Regions from separate parts of the Homo sapiens genome. Here all the other regions are linked to region 1. Evidence: promoter capture Hi-C in 16 types of primary human blood cells and fetal thymus (Javierre and others, 2016). All regions are on one chromosome and are shown on one strand. The core of a region is centred on a gene start or on the middle of the fragment in contact, and the rest is flanking DNA. Distances in the headings are between cores, read along the strand shown.

Region 1 (4,842 bases), core at 2,048-4,547:
AGGGGCCGAGAAGTGTGCGGAAAGTTCAATCCAGAGGTCGCGGGAGGGCCGGGGCAGCCTCCCACTGGCCTGGTGCTCCCCATTCCCGCTGGGGATCCAAATACTGGGCGACGGGGGAGTGCTGCTCTGCCCTCCACGAAGAAAAATAATTTTGTTTCCTGTTTGTCCTGTTTGTCTGACATCCAGGGCCGAAGAAGAAGATGAGCATTTGGAGCGAACTCTGGAGCAAAACAAAGGCAAGATGGCCAAGAAAGAGGAGAAATGTGTTCTTCAGTAGCCATCAGATCAGAAAGAATCTCTCCCAACATTTTAGAGTCTTGCTTCCCAAACCAGAAAAAGTCAGACTCATTGTTGATTTAAAACTTTTAACATTTTGTTTGGCTGGATTGTACTACTTTACCTCTACTTTACCACCACCACCCTTTTCCTCCCTCCTTTCCAAATAATATACAGAACTCCAAAATAGCTTCATTTAAGGATTTTTTTGTGAGTTAACAATTTCCTTGAAATCCTGTGAAATAGATTTGCACAGACACCTTGTGAGTGATTGGTATTGGAGGTGTTCAAGAAACTGTTCGAAAAAGAACAAAAACACTTCCCTCGTTATTTTCTCTCATTTTTTGATGAGAGGAAAATTTGAAACATTATTCTTGTTGTTGTTGGTAATAGCATAATGACAGTGGGAGGGGTACAAGGGGATAAGAAAAATGTCATGATTTTTTTCCGGTCCTGCCACATGTAACACTTACTCTGTTACCTAAATTTTATAGTTAGATCATATCCAATCTACTTATTAAACTGTGTTCTATTTACCAGTGGAGTTTTTCTGCAGTGGTTGCGTTTCACTGTAAGGATAATGGAGTTCCTCTCCTCTGCTTTCCTCAGAGGATGGTCCTTTAACATAGCCAGAAACAAGCCCTGTGGTTTGAAGGTGAGCTGTGAGGATGGGACTAATTGATATGCACCAGTTTACAAAGACAGTCTTATCATCCGAGAATACACCATCTTTTTCTCTGGATAATTATTTCTTACATCATGCTTGATTCCTACATTTTGTTGGGTCTCAACATTGGCTCACGAATGCTGTTAATATTTATTCTGTATTGATAAAAAGTCTGTCTTGCCACTACAAGTAAATCCCCCATTTAATATTTTCTTCTTTAGCATAGCACTGTCATTTTTTGTGAAAATGGTTATGTTTATTTATTACAATACTGAGTCATATATAAATTTTCAATAAAAGCAGAAACTTTCTTACCTTAAACACGGCTGCTACTTTCTTGCAATGAAAACTTGACATTGGCTTGAATGGAAGTTTGTCTATCCGTAAGACTTTTCATGTGGAAAATGGTCCTCTGGAACTTAGGGCAGGATACTGGGCTGCATTTGAAGCTGAATAAGTTTACACCATCCCAGAGGGGGCCCTACTGACACACGAATGCGAATTGAAAAGTAATTAGTCATATTCTTAAGCAGTATAAACTATCATGTCTTTTGTAAAGGGTCATCTCTGCTAAAGATTTGAGGAAATTTGTGATTCCACACCAATGAAAAACCAATATTTATATCTTGAATTTTCCACGTCATTACTTTGAATTGTTAGAGTTTTGAAGTCGTATTAGGGAGAGTCGTGTCTTCTGATAACCGGCAAGTCTGTAGGTACTGAAGTGAAAGGAAGAGGGTTATTGTTGGGGGGCGGGGAGAATGTATGCAGGTATGTGTGTATGAAATGAGGGAAAGAGAACTTTTAACAAGAAGTTCTAGGCTACAGAAAAAAAAAAAAAGCGATTCTATGCTAGTTTCCTTCATTCCCCCACAGGGGTGTCCAAACAAAGAAAGCTTGTTCAACAAGTCCAGAAACTTAGAGAAAAAAGTCCACTAGCATTTATACTTCAGCGTAGATCGTATGTATGTGCACACAAACAAATTTCGTTCCAAGTATGCAGCCACCTCCAGTTGCCAGTCTTTCAAAATGATAAAAACTTGCTACGGTAGAATTCCTTCATGATGAGCATTTCTTTTAAGTTATTGAAAAGTTATTTTAAGTAAATGAAGTCGGTATTTGCCCTCTTTATTCGAGCACGAGAGCAGAGAGAGAGCTGCTGCTCTCTGGGGAACGCTCTCAGAATCCCGTTCTAACCCCGGGAAAACTCAGCAGACAGAAATCGCCCGCCCCAAGCAGCCTGGGGCCTGGGCGGCCAACAGCACCCACCCAGTTTACGCTTGATTCGAGGAACCTTCACTCCCGAGGGGCCTCGCCGAAAAGCAGCTCCTTCGCTCCCGAAGCCGCTCCCAATCGGCCAACTGACAACCCTTCCCTCGCCCCAGATTTGCTAGGATGGTCTGGGACCGCCGGGCGGCCCCTCTACCTGCCCCTTCAGCTTTAGTCCCGAGCCTCTCGGGGTTTCAATTTGGGCTGCTCGGTGGCGCCCGAACGCCCCTCAGCGGCGGTGGAGCGTGGACTCCGGCGCCTGGCGGGGTAAGGCCCGCGGCAAGGGCGCTGCATCCGGACATCGCTGCGTGGTGCCCAGACGCTGGCTCCCGAGAACGGGCACGAGCCCAGCACGCCGGAGGACCCGGAACTCGAAAGCCCGCGCTGCGGGAAAAGAGACTATCGGTCCGAGGGTCGCAGAGGAGCAGGGGCGTTGGCAGCGGGCTTGCTTGGGCACAGTCTGCGGGCCGGAGCAGAACTTCCGCCCCTGGTCAGATCCCTCGGCCTCAGATCCAAAGCCCTCCCCTTGTCCCAAGTGTCCTCCAGAGCCTGGCCGGGCCTGGAGGTCACCTGGATGCTGGATCCTTGTCTCCACACCCAGCTCCCTCGCCCCTTCCCGGCTCGAGGGCCTTGAGCTGGACGGCTTCACCTCCTCCAGTGGTGTCCCCACTTCCCCTTCCCGCACCGCGGCCGATGCTGGAACGGTCATGGCTTCTGGCCCAGCATCTCCCACCTGGACATTTGCCTAGCGACGGCCGCCTCAATCCTCTGCGCTGCTTTCAAGAAACTTTCATCCCAGTCTCTCTCCCTCTCCACTCTCCTCCCTCTCCCCCTCTCCTCTTTCTTTTCTTAATCCTGGGGTTTTATGGGCTGAGCGTTAAGAAAATTCGCCTGCAATTTGGGATTAGATAAATACTCTAATTAGGAAAAAAAAAATCCGTGCTACTTGATACCTCCCAACTTCCCCGAGAATGGTGGCAGCATCTGGAACCGAGAGCGCCGGCCTCCCGCGAGGCGTACCCCGGGGACCGCGCTGGCACATTCCAGAGCGCACTGCCGTCCCACCTCGCTGCGCCGGACCCAGGTCAGGTGCTGAGGCTGCAGGCGAAACAGGGCCTGGTGGAGGGAGGAATGAGTTAAGGTGGAGGAATGGGGCAAGGTCACGCGCCCCGGCACTGGAGGGCCAACCCCGGCACACAGCGGACTGGCCGGGACTAGGGCAGCGCCGGGCTATGGACGCGGACGCCGGCGAAGCGCACCCCGGGACGTCCGCATATTCTTTCCCCCAAAACTAGTGCGCTCCAGCCGGCGCCTTTCCTCGGAACCTAAGGAAGGGGTATATTTCGTTGCTTTCTTTAAACCTCAGCACGATCACAGTGGCTCCGAGCCGCGGGCGGCTGACCGCGGGCCTCGCGGGCTACTCCTGGTAGGGGCCTGCGCGAGCCTAAGGTGTGTCCCCGCCTGGGTTAGCGCTGCGCTCTGCACTGTTTCTTTTCCTCTTAAAGCTTCTTTCTCACTCACTCTCTCCCTCCTTCTCTCTCTCATTTTTTCCCCATTTCTCTCGTTCTTTTATTCAGCTTTCTCTCTTTCTCTCCCTTTTGTGAATGGGCCGCGGTGTCTTTGTTCTGTAGAGAAGCGCCCGTGTCGCTGACTTTTGTGAACCAGAGAAGGATCTTGTAAAACCTCCTTTTCTCCTTCGTACGCCCCCACTCCCACCCCTCCTCCCCTGCCTCTTTGATTAGATGTTCCCTCATCGTCAAAAAAAAAATGTAATTTCGTTGGTCTGGCGGCCACTTTCTTTGAACATTAGCTCGCTTTCAGCTCCAACTTCAATTAGAAGGAGTTGATTTTGAGAGATCAACAAAAGAACCGACCAAAGCCTTATTAAAGGTCCTAAGAAGATCTCCCGGGTCCTTTGAGAAGCAGTTAAGGAAACAGTGTGCCCTCCATCATATTCTGTTACCGTATTTTATTCGGACTCCAAAGGAAAGTGTCGCTTGGGGGAGGGGGAAGCACTTTGATGAGCGGCGGCCGCGGCCCCTTTTCACTCAGCGGGCTCCCCCTTCGTTCTCCTCCTCCTCACCCAGCGCCCGGTCCGCTCTCGGCGCCCGACCCCGCAGCCCGGGCAGCGCGAGTGCTCCCCACTGCGATGCGCCTGGAGGCTCCTTGACTTGCCCTCACACTTAATCCTGTGCAAACTTTTTACCCCGCCTGTCGGGGTGGGGGAGTGGGGGAGATTAGAAACAAGGGGTAGAAATTCCTCGAAAGGGAATAAAGTGCCTAATTTTCAGGAGGAGGTGCCATTTAAAAGATTCGCCTAGCTTAGAGTTGGAACGAAAACTCTTTTTTGCACTTTTAAAAGTCCACCCAGGTAGACGTGTTTGGGAAGTTTTTTCGGGTGGGAAATGGGCTTCGCCCGTACGAACAATCCGGGGAAATCGCCTCAAGGAGGATCCTTACGCAGCATGTGGAAAAAAGTTGAGGGCAGGGGTCTGTGGCCACATTTTCCATCAAAAAGTCCCTGTTAGAGGCAGTCTAAGAAAGAGAGAGAAAGAGCGAAAAAGAAACTTTCCTATCAAAATGTTTCAATTAAGAAGTAGGGTGTACGTGTGAGGGGAAGAGGACGCTGG
Region 2 (5,053 bases), core at 1,026-3,525, 590 kb before region 1:
TAAAAGAAAACCTTTTATGTGTAGTTTAAAAAAATAAACAAAAACCTCTGTAGACCTTTTTAAAATCTACCAGCAATGTTTGACTCCTTTACTCTTAAAAGTGGGGCTATTCCCATTCCTCTGTTTTAGGCCTACACTTGTCATTTTGCAGGGGAGACCATTGGAGAGGATGCTAGAGGTCTTAAATATGGTTCTCACCCACGGTTTGCTTGCTTTTATTAGACTGAGCTAAAGGGTGGGGGAATTCACATGCCATGAGAGAATAGATACTTGCCTGTGCTTGCATCTCATGGAGGTAAGAGTGGGAGAAATTTGTAAAGTAGATCAAGAAGAAAAACTTTGAGTTAGGCAGGGTGGGTCCTGAGTTTCTGGAAGCAGGGCCACATTCTCTGCAGTGCCAGGCATGGGCCTGTTTTCTAGAAGGAACTCTTTTACTTAAAGGAAAGCTTCAGGATGAGGGGTGCCTGTAAGCTGGCCTTAGCGTTTTGAGAGATGCAGAGCTAAATGGGATTGGCAGCTCTGATCTTGCTGCAGCAGCCTCCTGGCCCAGCTCCCACATCTTAACCTCCCTGGAGAGCAGCCTAGTCGGCAGAGTGGAGCTGGGGAGAGCTGGATGGGATGAGGTGCAGGACCCTACTGAGAGGAGGGGAATGCAGTGTCTCCACAGACCCAGCTCTGGGGGTGGGAGGAGCAGATTCCATGCCTCCCTCGTGGAAAGCAGAGGCATCAGGCATGGGGTGCTTTTGTGTGAATCGTGGCTGCATGAAGCATGTACTGGCTTCCATGTTGAGCCCTGGTAAAGGTATGAGGCAAACAGTGTGCAGCTCTGTTCCCACTGCTCCCCAGAATGTAAAAGGTGGCACAATATAGCTGCGGTACAGGATGGTAGGGCTGCCCACTGGGATGATCCAGAGAAGTGCTGGGCCATAGTCCCCAGGTGTGGTCTGTCACCAGGCTTTCCATCATACTGTAGGTTTTGAAATCTTTAAGGTCCCGCTCTTAAAATGCAAATACTCCTGTGAGGTTTGAGGTTTTATTATCCTATATCCTAGATTTGCCTTTAATAAAACAAAAAACCCAGCTTTATTTATTTATGTATGTATTTATTTATTTATTTTGAGATGGAGTCTCACTCTGTCGCCCAGGCTGGAGTGCAGTGGCACGATCTCAGCTCACTGCAAGCTCCGCCTCCTGGGTTCACGCCATTCTCCTGCCTCAGCCTCCTGAGTAGCTGGGACTACAGGCACCTGCCACCACGCCTGGATAACTTTTTTGTATTTTTAATGGAGACAGGGTTTCACTGTGTTAGCCCAGGATGGTCTCGATCTCCTGACCTAGTGATTTGCCCGCCTTGGCCTTCCAAAGTGCTGGGATTACAGGCGTGAGCCACTGTGCCCAGCCGAGACCCAGCTTTATTGAAGGTCCAATTTGCATATCATAAAATTCATTTTGAGTTGTGCCACCATCACAATCCAACCTTAAAATGCTATCACTCCAAAGATACTCCTACTTGTAGCATTCCCATTCCCATTCCCACCCTGTCCCTGTCCCAGGCAACCACTAATCTTTCTGTCTCTATGGATTTGCCTCTTGACATTTCATATAAATAATACAATATGTGGTCTTCTGTGTCTTGCTTCTTTTGCTTAGTGTAATGTTCTTGAGACTCCTCCATATTGTAGCATAACAGTAATCTGTTCCTTTATATTGCTGAGTAATATTCCACTGCAAATACCACATTTTCATTCACTGATGGTGAACATTTATTTCTAGGTTTGGGCAGCTATGAATAATGCAGCTATGAACATTCATAGCTTCTGTTCTTATATGCACATATATTTGGAGTATGTGCTTATTTTGGGTAAATTACTTCTAAAAACTGGCCGGGCACAGTGGCTCACGCCTGTAATCCCAGCACTTTGGGAGGCCAAGGCGGGTGGATCACCAGAGGTCAGGAGTTCAAGACCAGCCTGGCCAACATTGTGAAAACCCGTCTTTACTAAAAATACAAAAATTAGCTGGGTGTGGTGGTGGGTGCCTGTAATCCCAGCTACTCGGGAGGCTGAGGCAGGAGAATTGCTTGAACCTGAAAGGCAGAGGTTGCAGTGAGCCGAAATTGCACCACTGCACGCCAGCCTGGCCGACAGAGCAAGACTCCGTCTCAAAAAACCAAACAAACTACCAAACTATTTTCCAAGTCAGTTGTACCATGTTACAATCTCATCAGCAATATATGAAAATTATAGTTCTTCCACACTTTTGACATTTGTTATTGTCTTTTATTATAGCCATCCTAGTGAGTATGAAGTGGTATCTCATTGTGGTTTTAATTTTCATTGCCCTAATGCTAATGATTTTGTGCATTTTCTTTTCATGTGTTTATTGACCATTCATATATCTTTGATAAAATGTCTACGTGGCTGTTCCTTTTTAAAATCCAGAGACAGAGAGATGGTCAATTTCCCTGGGAGGTGTAGAGGTTTATCGGGTTCACTGTTTGATCCCAAGTGCTGAGTACAAGAGTCAGAGAGTAAAGGGTCATGTATTAGCGTCCTGTGGCTGCTGTAACAAATTGCCACAAACTTGGTGGCTGAAAGCAACACACATTTATTCTCTTTCAGTTCTGCAGATCAGAAATCTGAAATCAGTTTCACTGGGCCAAAATTAAGGGGTAAGCAGAGCCTGCAGGGGCTCTACATTTCCTTGCCCTTTCTAGCATCCAGAGCTGCAGTGTTTGCATTCTTTGGCTCTTGGCCTCTTACCCATCTTCAAAGCCAGCAGCATAGCATTTCCAAATCTCTCTCTCTGTCTGCTTCCTTTGTCATATGGCTTTGTTTGTCTTCTGTAGTAAAATCTTCCTCTGCCTCTCTTTTAGAAGGACCCTTGTGATTACATTTAAGATCCATCTGAATAATCCGGGATAATCTCCCCACTCAAGGGCTTTCAGTCACACCAGCAAAGTCCGTTTTGCCATGTAGGGTAATATTCACAGGTTCCAGGGGTTAGGACCTGGCTGTCTTTGGGGGCCATCATTCAGCCCACCCAGTCAGTAACCTGTGAAATGCACGTGGCCCCATCAGCTCATGGTTCGGGGTTGGCTGGTCTTGAGGAAGACATCAGGCTGAAGGAAGTCTTCTGGAGGTAGGCCCTGGAGGGAGACCAGAGCCAGTCATGCTAGAGACCTCTCACCTCTTTCTTCTGACTCATCTCCTTTCTAGAAACTATGATATGAGGCGTTTGATAGCACGTGTGAGCCTGGAGGTGCTGAGGCAGCTAGCACTGTTACCAGGGTGGCGGCGGGGACAGGACCAGAACTTGGGGCCTCGCGCCCAGGTCCTCCCGTCCTTGCCTTCTCCCAGCTCCCCTCCAGGCTAACCACCTCCACGCGGGGGCCGGGTGCTGCTGCTGCCCTGAGAGCTCAGCCCCTTTCCCGGGGCGGGCACCGCTTCCCGGTCCCGGGCCTCTCTGCTCTCCCGAGGCGATAGCCACCCTGCGATCTCTCGCGCGGCCAGCAGGGGCCAGCATCCCCCGCGGAAAGGGTCGCTGGGCTGGGCTGGCCGAGAGCCGGGGATCGGCGACCCCGGGCGCCGCTGCCAAGCCCCCTGCCGTGCGGGCTGCTGCTTCGCCGTCCCAGCCCCGCAGCCTTTTGTGTCTTTCCACTTCTCCCCTGGCCCGCTGCGCTCTCGCTCTAGAGAAGGCAGAGACTGCCTTGGGTGTGGCAGCCAGGAGTGGACGGTTGCGGGCTGGGAGGCTGGCCGGGTTTCCTCCCCGTCGCGGACCTGGAGGAAGGGCTGGGTGCGGCGGGAAGGCCCCGGAGGGAGAGCTGAGCCTGGGTTGGTAGCATGGTGAGGAATAGCGGCCTCAGGGGCAGAGATGTCCGTTTCTTTGTGCACCGAAAGCTCTGAGAAGGACATCCCGATACCAGTGAACTTCTAGATTTGGAATGAGCTTCTTACCGAGCATCTCACATTCCAAAGTGCATCTGATTCGGAAGTCCTCGTGGTTCTACCTTCGGAAGGTGGGGGTGGGGTGGGCTGCCTGGGTGCAGAGGGCTGAGCCAGGCTGGTGGGAACTCCTCAGCGTCCAGCACCTGTGGGGCTGCAGCAAGCTTTTGCTGCTAGGCTCTAAACGAAGCCTGTAATTAAGGCCTTAGTTTAACTGGGTGCGCTCTCACTTTTATCTGTGGCCTGGCCTGAGCGGTTGCCTCCAGCAGCCTCAGCTACCCTCACTGCTTTGCCGCTGAACCCAGGAACGGCTATTCCACTGCAAGGGAGCTAAGACCTTCATTTGTTGCACCAACGTTTTCCTCATGGCTTATGTCTCTAGCCTCAGAGAAATCAGAGATTAGAGCCCAGATCTGGGGTCAGAAAAAGACCCGGGTGTTAGATCTGACTTTGCTACTAGCTGGGTGGCAGAAGATGGGGGAACACTTCGCTCCTTTCTACCTGTTTCCTCCCCTTGTTAAATGCGGAGGCTAATGACACTTACTGCAGATGGGGAAGCTAACAGCACTTACTGCAGAGGGTGTTGTGAGGAATCACTCAGCAAATTCTTGTAAAGGGCCAAGGTTAGAACTCAAGCCTTTTAAAATCCCATCTCTTAGTCTGGGCGGATCCCAGGAAGGTGTCAAGTCCAGCTGATGGGCATAGGTGTGTCCGTGAGGCAAGCCTGCTCTTGATGGAGCACGACAGGAAATGCAGCCTGGCCCAGCTGACAGACCTATCTACAGCGCATGTCCTCACAGGACCAGACCCTTCTGCTCCCCTTGGCTCCAGCTCCTAGATCATTCTCAGCAGTTCATTCCACGTGTAAGTGCACGCCCTCAGTTACTGTAGGAGCCAGACCACGTGGGTTCAATGTCAGCCCAAGATCCACCAGCCATGAGGCTTTGGGAAAGTCACTTCACCTCTGTAGGGACTGATTTCCCCATCTGCAAAATGGGCAGAGCGTGACCCATCTCGAAGCATTGTGGTAACGCATGGGGTGCTGCTGAATGGGACTCATTGCACTCTGCAACCTGGCTCTGGCGATTCAGACCGTGAATGCTTGGATT
Region 3 (5,314 bases), core at 750-3,249, 610 kb before region 1:
GATAGGAAGAAAAACATAAGGTTGGGAGGCTACTTTTGATAGTGGTTAGAGGAGGCTTCTTTGAGGTGATGTTTGAGTAGAAAGCTGGTTGAAATGAGAAAGCCAAATGAAGAGAGCGTATCCTGGGAAGTGGGAACAGTAGTGTCACATCCTAAGGTAGGAATGAGCTTCACGTATTCTTAAGAACAGAAAGGAAGTTAGTATAGCCAGAAGGGAACGAGCAAGGAGGAGAGATGCAGGAAGTAAGGTCCAGGAGGCAGTGGCCAGATCAAGAGAAGCCTTAGAGGTCCTGCATAGGTGTGTAGGGGAAGATAATTGTTTTTTCTACCCTTTTAGGTTCTCCAGCTGGTGTCCTGTAAATGAGACTGGCCAGAGAGACATTAACAGAAGAAAAATAGTTTCCTAACATGTGCATCACACATGCACATATAAGAGCACTCAGTGATAAGTAACCCAAAGGGGTAGTTAGAACTTGGGTTTAAATACCTGTCAACTCAAGAATCATGAGGTCCATACATTTGGAAAAGAGAGCTTTATTTCTTATAAAGGGTTGCAGCCTGCAGGCTGGCCACCCTCAGGCTGGGGCGTACTTCAAAGGAGGAAAGGTGAAATGAGAATTTATGCTGAAGGGTTAGCTAAGTATACATATTCAACAGGTTATCGGAGGAGCTGTGAATATTCAGAAGGGGGATGTATACATACATACTAAGCAAACATGCATGTTACATACATCCCATGTTCACTCTGGGGGTGGAGACTGAACACTTAAATGCATTAGAATCAGGCTCTCTATCAAAGAGTGAAACAGAGGTCACAGAGGCATCCTGTGCACAGCCTCTGTAAACCAGCCACCACCAGTTCCTGGCTGGTGGCCCCCTATCAGGAGGGAATACTGGCTAGTATTTGTATCAAACTGCAAAAGGGGAGAGGAGTCCTGCTAAAATCAGTGGTGGAGCAAGTCTTTTGATAGGGATGGCTTTGGTCAAGGTTGGTAGCCCATGCCTGTAATCCCAGCACTTTGGGAGGCTAAGGGAGGAGGATCACTTGAGGCCAGCAGTTCAAGACCAGTCTGGGCAACATTGTGAGACCTTGTCTCTACTTAAAAAAGAGCTAGTTTCTGTTTAGCCCTTAGGAAACTAGGCCTAATGGCAATTAGGGAGGGAAGAGTATAATGGGGTCTGTCTGACCTCCCATCTGGTCATGGTGGGGAACTCAGGTTTTAAGTTTCCTCTGGGGTATGCTTGGCAAAGAGGGGGTCCATCCAGTCAGTTGGGAGCCTTAAGATTTTAGTTTTATTTCTCTTAACGACAACAACAACAACAACAACAACAACAGGGTTTTAGGCTCTTAGAGAAGGCAGGTTATGGGAAGACGATCCTGAAAAGTACCGTAAGCAAGGGTTGTGTATCAAGGTTTGTTACACAGATTGATGCCTTCTCCATCGAGAAGAGTTAAGAATCCTTCCTTTCCTGGAGGGGGAAACACCTCTACGATGGGAAATTTCCTTTATAAATATAAATTTTCTTTACGATATAAAAACTTGTTTTTAGAGCTTTTTCTGAATCTGCTCGTTCTCAATGACGTTTAGCTGAAAATAATTTATACGCCAATGGTGCACATTTTGGGGTGGCATATTCTGGTACCCCTCAGGTGTCAGTATGGTTTTATGTCACTTTATGACAGGAATATGTTCTGAGAAATGCATCACGTGATTTCTTTCTTGTGTGCATATCATAGACCTACATAAACCTAGATGGTACAGACTACTAGGCACCTCAGCTGTATGGTACAGCCTCTTGTTCCTAGGCTACAAACTTGTATAGCATGTTACTGTACTGAATGCTGTAGGCAACTGTAACACATTGTTCAGTACTTATGTATCAAAGCATACCTAAACATAGAAGAGGTACAGTAAAAATATAGTATAAAAAATTAAAATGGTACACTTGTATAGTGCACTTACCATGAATGAATCTTGTAGGACTAGAAGTTGTTCTGGGTGAGGCAGTGAGTGGTGAGTGAATTTGAAGCCCTAGGACATTACTGTACACTACTGTAGGCTTTATAAACACTGTACACTTAGGCTACACTACATTCAAAATTTTGTTTTCTTCAATTACTAACTTTAGCTTACTAAAACTTTTTTACTTTATAAATTTTTTAGTTTTCTTTTTGATTTTTTGTAATAATACTTAGTTTAAAACAAGTACATACAGCTGTACCAAAATAGCTTGTTTTTTAGAGACAGGTCTTGCTTTGTCACTCAGGCTAGAGTGCAGTGGTGCAATCTAGTCTCACTGCAGCCTTGACATCCTGGGCTCAGGTGATCCTCATGCCTCAGCCTCCTGAGTAGGACAACGGGTGTGTGCCACTATGCCTATTTTTTTTTTTTTCTTTTTGGTAGAGATGGGGCCCAAGCAATCCTCTTGCCTTGGCCTCATAAAGTGTTGGGATGACAGGCATAAGCCCCCACACCCAGCCAATGTTTTCCTTATATTCTTCTATAAGCCTTTTTCTATTAATTTTTGTTTTTTTTTTACTTTGTAAACTTTTTTTGTTGGAAATGTGGACACAAACATATTTGTCTAGGCCTACACGAGGCTAGTTCATCAAGACTTCACTAGGTGATGGGAATCTTTTAGCTCCATTATAATTTTATGGGACTACCATTGTGTATGCGGTTCATCGTTGACCAAGATGTCATTATGACATGCAAGAGTGTATTTCATTTTGAATGATGGGCCAGCTACTAAAAGGTATTGATATGAGCACGGTGGTATCTATCTTTGAACAAAAATCACTTTATATAATGGACCATTCCATGAGTATAAGCAGGGAGATGAGTTAGGGAGATGCCAAGTGTGAGACATGGCAGTATGGAGGTAAGGGTGAAAACTAGTTGGATTCTAGATACTTTGGAGGAGGAGTCAACAGGACATGCTCATGGATTAGTCTGGGGTGGAGAAGAGTTAAGCAACTGACTGGAGCCTTTTTTTTTGTAGTCTAAAGTCTTCCCCAAAGCCCCACGTCAATAGAGAGGATAGGAACAACATGGAGGGATTCACAGGATTCACTCTCCTCTGAGTGCCTCCACTGGCCATCATAGGCTGGCTTGTGTACTTCTCCACAAACATGATTTTGTCCATAACTGGACCATGTCCTCAAGGGCCATATCTTAGGCTTTTCTGAATCTTCCACCCCTACCCACTCCCAATAGAATAAAAACAGTTGTGAGAACATAGGAAAGCATGCTATGGACTAAACCTGGGCTAAAACCCTTTCAGGTAGTGATGACAGCCTTAGAGATGAGGAAACAGACTCGGGGAGTAAAGGTACTTTCCTGATAGTAGCGACCATTTGAGACAACTTCCTGCCTGCCCAACATTGTGCTGGGAATTTGGGCGGCAAATGGCTGATCTGGGTGTTACACCAGCAGCTTCTCAATTTATGTTGCTGCTGAGCAAATGATGCCTCATTGTGATCTGTCTGCTGAAGGAGTTCAGAAAATGCCACCCCAAAATATGCTTTGGTGTGCTGATTGCTTTGAACTGAGGGCATTTTGAGAGACAGTGGATGAAGGCAGAGGCTAGCTTTGAGCTCACCTTATCTGCCTAAAGACAATCCTCCAAAAGGAACTCAACTGTCAAGACTTCCCCAGGAACCTCGTCAACCAAGACCAACTCATAACACAGGAGAGGAGACTGAGGTTTGACTCCGTGCCCAGACAGACTTCGTCATAGGCTGTCACCTTTTCTTCTGAGGGCCCACTCATCTTTCCCAGCATCAAATGAAGAATCACGAGGTTCGTACATTTGGAAAGGAGGGTACCACGACCTGCAGGCAGGACGTGGAGCTACTAGCTGAAACTGAAAAGCAAGTGCTCTGAGGGAAAGAAGGATGAGATGGGAATTTATGCTGAAGGGCTAAATACACATATTCAACAGGTTATGGGAGGAGCTATAAATATTAATGAAGGGGAGTGAGTGCATGTGTAGTAGGCTAACATGTATGTAACGTGCATTCCATGTTCGCTTTGGGGTAAAGACTTAACATTCAGTTAGACTCTACAACAAAAAGTGAAGTAAAGGACAGGAAGGCCCTCAGTGCACAGCCTCTGTAGACTGACCAGAATCACTTCATGATTGGTGGTCTCTATTAGGAAAGAATGCTGGTCTGTTGCTGTGTCAAAACAGCAAAAGGGAGGGACGGCATTAGGTGATTGGTTGAAATTGGTGAAGCAAGTCTGTCGAAAGCTGGTTTCTGTTTAACCCTTAGGGAAGAAGGCCTAATGGGGGTTGGGTGAAGGAAGGGGTAGATGACAAGACCTATCTAACCTCCCAGCCCATCATGGCCTGGAACTCAGGTTTGTTTTTTGGTTCCCTTGGCGAGAGGGGGTCTATTCACACCAAAACTCATTTACAGTTCCCTAAGTTGCTTACATCACCCTCCAGCCTCCCCTATGAAGAGAGTAAATATGCTTCTAGATCTCACCAGGTTTTGGGGGATATACACTTTTCTTTTATGTGATGTCCCCATGCATGTAATAAATTCGTATTCTCATTTTTACTGTGAATCTGTCTACTGCCAGTTTGTTTCATAGACTCAGCCATCAAAGCCTCAGAGGACAGAGGGAAAGCTCTCCTTCCCCATACTATTCTCAGCAGGTGCCAGAGCTACCTTTTCAATGGCTTCCATGAAGATGACTTCCCTCTGTGAGTGACTTCAGGTGGTTGGACACTAAAATATGCCACCACAAAAATATGACTGAAAAGTTACAATTTTAAGAGAAAGTTATATTAATAAAGGAAGTCTCTGCCTGTAAGAGTGTCTCCCTCTCTGTCCCAGGAGGAGAAGGATGGCTAAATCACCAGACACTTAATGGAGGAGGCATGACTTAAACCTGCAGAACAACCTTACCTTTGTCTAAGGTGCTTTTCCTGGTCTTCTGGTCTTAACAGGGTCTTTCCCCATACACTTCTTTCTTCATTTCAGAGAACTGATGGTATTTAAACCTCAAGTTTAAACTTTTTCTTTGAAATCTCATTTCTCTGGGTTATCTCCCATATATACAGGAGATATACACATTATCAAACTTCTTTTTGTGTTTTTGCTTGTTAACCTGTCTTTGTTACAGGGAGTCCTGGTTAAGAATTATGAAGGGTAGAAAGGATTATTTTTCTTCCCCTACAAGGTCCTACCCCATTCCCCCTACTCTTTTGAGGGAGCCGGTCCTAGATGTCAGCTGAAGGGAATACCATATCCTATGAATCACTTGTTATGTCTTTTTGCTCTTATTCTTTAAGCCTCTTTCTTC
Region 4 (5,058 bases), core at 646-3,145, 540 kb before region 1:
GTCTGGTGTACTGAACAGATCATGGGCTTCAGAGTTCAAGCAAATCCGAGCTCCCCAAACCTCTGTGACCCTGGATGTCAGACTTGACATGAATTATTTAAACTCTTTGAGCTTCTATTTCTTCATCTGTAAAATAGTGAAATTAAAACTTCCTCACAGGCTGTTTGTGAGAATTAGAGCCAATATAAATTATTTCATCCTAGCACTGTGCCTGGCACACTTAGTAGGCACTCAACAAATATTAGTCCTCTTTCCTTCTTCTCTTCTACTTATCTACAGGCTCATTGCAAGCACACACCATGTCCTACCCTAATTTGAGACCCTCATAGAATCTAGCATCTTGCTTTCCACGCAGTGAATATCAAATACACATAAGAATGAATTAATGAAAGTATACTGTCATAAGGACATTACTAGCATAGCCATTTGTGATACATGAGTTCCATTTACCTAAGGTTGATTCCATAACACTTTCTGCTTTTATGTAAGAGAGCAGGGTCCTAGATTAAGAATTTGATTTTTAAAATTGAGCCCTACAAAATACATCCTAAATTTGACTAAATTCTTAAGAGCAGACACATATATTGAAATCAGTTGCTGTACACGTAAGATTTTAAAGGCTCTAAAATAAATGTCTTAAAAACATTATTTTCTCCTTTTCTCCATAGCTGAGTGTTTTTATCTGTCACTTAATTATTTTAAAATATAAGAAATAGTCATGGTCTCTCACAGCAAAATAGTTTCTTTTAGCTCCAAGAATATGCCTGATTATTATGATCTACTTTTGCTTGCAACTGTTTATTAAATTACCACTGATAAAGGAATGAATTCTTAAAATCTGTTAAATCTGAAGACAACTCACCAGCCTAGGATCTTTTCGATAGCAACAGTACAAAGCTGCGGACATGGTAATGACATAAACTTGTTATTACAGTACAAATAATCAAACCTACTTCCAATCCACAAAGAAGAAAATTTGGGAAAGAATAATAAATTGGGCAAGCTGAACATTTCAGTACCTTTGAGAAGAAACTGTAGTCAAATTTTGCAAAGAATGGTTTTCATGTTAGAAGTATTGTGTGTTAACATCTTAAAGGTTATGCTATGTCCATATTTCAGCAGATCAAACTTATAATCATGGAAATGAAAATCAAATTAATATGTAAATGAACCTTAAAAGCGTAAGACATAAACTTACTAAATTTTGCAAAAGTTCAAGTTGAGTTCTGTAAATGGAATTTAAATTAAAACATACAATATAAATCAGGGATAGGTAAACAACTGGCCAGCTGCCTGTTTTTGTACAGTCAATGAGCTAAAAATGTTTTTTCACGTTTAAATGGTTAAAAAAGTAATATTTTTTCCACACGTGAAATCCATATGAAATACAAATTTCAGTGTCCATAAAGTTTTATTGGAACACAGCCCTGCCTATTCAATAACTATTGTCAATGGCTGCCGTGGAGACCATATGGCCTACAAAGTCTAAAATATTTACTATCTGGTCCTTTTCAGAAAACGTCTTTTTACCTTGTATTATCAGACGTTAGTGCTCATTAAGCCTCATCCTTGGAACCAGAAACGTGAAAACCTATTTTTTTCACATTTTTCTCTGTACATCCTAAATCATAAAGGCCTACATTTGGGAAATAGGCAAGTGATCAAGGTGACAAAATGCAGCTTTGGGAACTGCCTTTACTTTTCTCTGTCCCTTTTAAAAATTCTCTAAAACCAAGCAGAGGAAAAGATTGATATTTCCCAGCAGAGTTGAATGATGAAAACCACATGGGTTTGGTTGACAGTGTGTTGTCTACCATCATGATGTAGGAGGAGGAAACTGTTCTGGAGGAAACTGTGTTATCACTTGACATCAAGTTAAAGGACGCAGAAGCATCATGGTATTTTGTTACCTTATGATAAGAGTTACATATAGGGGAGGAGGAGAAGGCAGGGAAGGGGTGAGTTTTGTTGAACGCCCGGCTAGTATGGCACATGCCAGTGGGAGTGGATGGTGGTTTGAAAGGACTCATTAACTTTTTTTTTTAATGTCTTCTACGAGAAAATGGCCTTGCTTAGGAACATACTTGTTCTGCTAGGAAAAGGGAAAAGGCAAATTTGTTCCCTGGGGTGGGGGTGGGGACGGGGGAGGTGGGATTGCTTGGGCTATTCCTCGTCATCCTGGACAGAAAAGCCGGGGCGGGCGCCGCAGAGGCAAAACAACTTGGGCCTTCGCTCTCGCGGCGCGCGGGGGACCAGCCTGTGCAGCAAGGGCGGCTTTTATCTTTTTATTTTTGGGGTTTCTCCGGGACAATGATGGGCCTTGCGCGGCACAGAGATCGGCCCCACGTCAGCTGCCGCGCTTGCAACAAGCTGGCCAGGGAGCACCACGCGGAGACCAGGCCCGGCCGGGGGCGGGAGGCCGCCAGCGCCTCAGCTCCCTGTCCGGCCCGGCCCCTCCTCCAAGGCGCTCTCCCGCACTGCGGAGAACTGGCTGAAGGCGACATCGCCATTTTAGGTACGGGCAAATTCTGGACGCTCCAAAATCCACGCCAAGCCCTCGGCAGGCCACACCCCCTGCACCGGGCCTCGGTCACTCACCCGGACCCTCATTGGACTCTGGACCGGTCCGATTGGAATCACTGAACACGGCCCGGCTGAAGTTTCCCAGCCGCTGGCGCACCGGATCCGGCAGCTCCATGCCTGGGCCTCAGTATCCCTCACCCCCTCAGACACGGGCTAGTCTGCGGGCGCTCCGAGGCTCCGTGGTTCCCACGGCAACCGGGCGGCGCGAGGCCGGCGGGACCCGGGAGCGCGCGGGGCTGCCCGGCTGGGCTGGGTCTCGTCCGGAGCCCGCGCAACCTGGAAGGGACCGGCGCGCTCAGAGCGCGTTCCAGGCCCAGGGAGCCGCGCGCCTCGGCCGTGTACAAAACGGCAGATCCCTTAGTTCTGCTTTGAGCTCGACCATCCTAAAAACAAACCTATACTAAGAAATGAGCTGGGGTTGGACTGCGATACAAGGAGCCCTCACATTTGCCAGTGGAACTGTAAATCGGTACAACCTTTCTGGAGAGAAATAGAGAACGAATGCAGAGCTTAAAGAATGTCTAGAGGTGTAGGGGTGTGTGTGAGAGAGAGAGACATCATGTGACTGATTATTTTTTAATAAGAAAACAGCAATGGGCAACTGATTAAATGTACTGGAGCACATACATTCAATGGAGTATGTTTCAGCTGCTTATAAAATGCTTGCAAAGGATATTGAATGGTATAGTTTAACTTTATGTAAAAATACAGCAGAAATAAAACTAAATGAGAATGAACCTAATTTAGCAAAATTTATGTGTATGAGTGGAGGGGAGGAGAGAGCGTGTGCACACTGGCTTGAAAAAAAGAACTGGAAAAAAGTCCAAAATGTTAACAGTCGTTTTCACTGGATAGTGGGATTGTAGGTGATTCAAAAATTTTTAAACGTCTTATTTTCTAGCTTTCTCTCAAGATATATTACTTAAAAAAAACTAAGTGTAATACACATACAGAAAAATTGTACACCTTTTGTAAGTAATATATATTACTTAAGAAATAAGTGTAATATATATACATAGACTGAAATCTGTATGTGTAATCAGCACCCTGTTCAAGAAACTTTACAATATTCCCAGAAACTCCCCCTTCCTATTTCCTTTCAGTCACTAAACCCACTCCTCACTCATAACTGACCTTTCCTGAATTCTAACAGCAAAGGAGAGTTTTGCCTTTTTTTTTTTAAATCAGAACATTTATTGTGTGACTAATCTAAAATTTTTTTTTTTTTTTTTTTTTTTAGACAGAATCTTGCTCTGTCACCCAGGCTGGAGTGCAATGGCACAATCTCGGCTCACTGCAACCTCCGCCTCCTGGGTTCAAGTGATTCTCCTGCCTCAGCCTACCGAGTGGCTGGGATTACAGGTGCCCGCCACCACACTCGGCTAATTATTGTATTTTTAGTAGAGACAGGGTTTCGCCATGTTGGCCAGGCTGGTCTCGAACTCCTGACCTCAAGTGATCCACCCGCCTTGGCCTCCCAAAGTGCTGGGATTACAGGTGTGAGCCACCGTACCTGGCCTGAAATTCTTAAGATGAACTGGATGCTGCAGCAGCTGTCCTCTTGGGTTTAGGTGGCATTCCTTTAAAAAATCCATGCCTTAACCTGCTGTACACAATTTTTAAGTGCCTCATTCGACCAGTCCCACTGGTATATTTTTTAGCCTCGGCACTCCAATTATACTTTATCTTGGCTTGGGAGGGTAGCCGCGTTTGCCACAGGCGGACTTTTGAAGGAGTTAGAGTCACAGGGCAGCACTAGCTGTGCATCTTATCGCACCACTTTCTAGATGATGACACTCCCTTTGTCATCTTGCTTCTGTTTTGCATATTTATATAAAAGCAATCATACTGTAAGTACTTTTTTAAAAAACTGGCTTTGTCTTCAACATTACTTTCATGAAATTCCTTCATGTCATTGAGTGTAGATTCTTTTGCCTTGCTCTTTGTGATCATACCACAATAAGCTTACTCATTCTACTGTTGATGAGTGTCTGTATTTTCTAGTTTGGAGCTGTTGTGTATAGTGCTGCTTTGGGGAAAAGATGCCTCTTGGTGAACATATGCATGCATTTTTGTTGAGTGTATATCGAGAGTGGAATTGCCGTGTCATAGGATACGAAAGACCCAGCTTTAGTAGAGGCTGCCTACAGTTTTCCAAAGTGATCAAACCAATTTCTGCTGCCTCCAGCAATGTGTGAATATTTCCATTACTCCATATACTTCACCAACACTTGTTATTTCTTATCCTTTCCTTTTAGCCCTTCTGATGGGTGTGTGGTAAAAGTATTATTTTTACAATCAAAAGGAAAATTACACATTTATATAAATGCAAGAAGAAGATATGGGTGGAAATAAGTTCATGACTAGAATTTTAAAATAATTACACAAACGTTTATTGCATTCCTACTGCTTATTTGGATATCGTGCTAGGCTAATTAGGGATATGGTCCCTCCTCATCAAGAAGCACAGCTCAG

Evidence for each region. The method cuts DNA at HindIII sites, captures the fragments that hold promoters and counts their contacts. A CHiCAGO score of 5 or more calls a contact.
Region 2: a contact is called between a fragment that was not itself captured here and the fragment with the promoter of EHBP1-AS1 in region 1, in 5 of 17 cell types (M0 macrophages, megakaryocytes, endothelial precursors and 2 more). The highest score is 8.5, in M0 macrophages.
Region 3: a fragment that was not itself captured here is called in contact with the fragment with the promoter of EHBP1-AS1 in region 1 in 2 of 17 cell types (M2 macrophages and M1 macrophages); the score reaches 5.8 in M2 macrophages.
Region 4: a contact is called between a fragment that was not itself captured here and the fragment with the promoter of EHBP1-AS1 in region 1, in 1 of 17 cell types (neutrophils). The highest score is 5.6, in neutrophils.

Annotation. Positions count from the first base shown.
Region 1 is chr2:63,045,224-63,050,065 of GRCh38, forward strand. It overlaps EHBP1-AS1 (EHBP1 antisense RNA 1), which reads right to left and starts at 3,298. Exons shown (of 4, transcript NR_033389.1): 1 at 3,166-3,298; 2 at 1,259-1,427; 3 at 814-918; 4 at 1-220. EHBP1 (EH domain binding protein 1) reads left to right here. Exons shown (of 23, transcript NM_001142616.3): 23 at 187-1,264. The coding sequence ends at 277. It also overlaps a transcript of OTX1 not described here. RefSeq lists enhancers at 1-500, 2,610-3,358, 3,337-4,745, 3,359-4,108, 4,109-4,842. The HindIII fragment of the contact is 1,878 bases long and covers 1,838-3,715 here.
Region 2 is chr2:62,453,604-62,458,656 of GRCh38, forward strand. All of the region lies in intron 4 of LOC105374764 (a long non-coding RNA gene), which reads left to right. It also overlaps a transcript of TMEM17 not described here. Among named protein-coding and RNA genes, the nearest start is that of TMEM17, 50 kb to the right of the region's middle. RefSeq lists a silencer at 3,226-3,785. The HindIII fragment of the contact is 3,662 bases long and covers 445-4,106 here.
Region 3 is chr2:62,436,268-62,441,581 of GRCh38, forward strand. The region is part of intron 2 of LOC105374764 (a long non-coding RNA gene); the gene reads left to right. Among named protein-coding and RNA genes, the nearest start is that of TMEM17, 67 kb to the right of the region's middle. RefSeq lists an enhancer at 4,459-4,508. The HindIII fragment of the contact is 6,784 bases long and covers 1-5,314 here.
Region 4 is chr2:62,503,432-62,508,489 of GRCh38, forward strand. It overlaps TMEM17 (transmembrane protein 17), which reads right to left and starts at 2,764. Exons shown (of 4, transcript NM_198276.3): 1 at 2,599-2,764. The coding sequence starts at 2,698. It also overlaps the pseudogene RPL37P13. RefSeq lists silencers at 1,663-1,957, 2,295-2,464, 2,675-2,944. The HindIII fragment of the contact is 5,299 bases long and covers 1-4,545 here.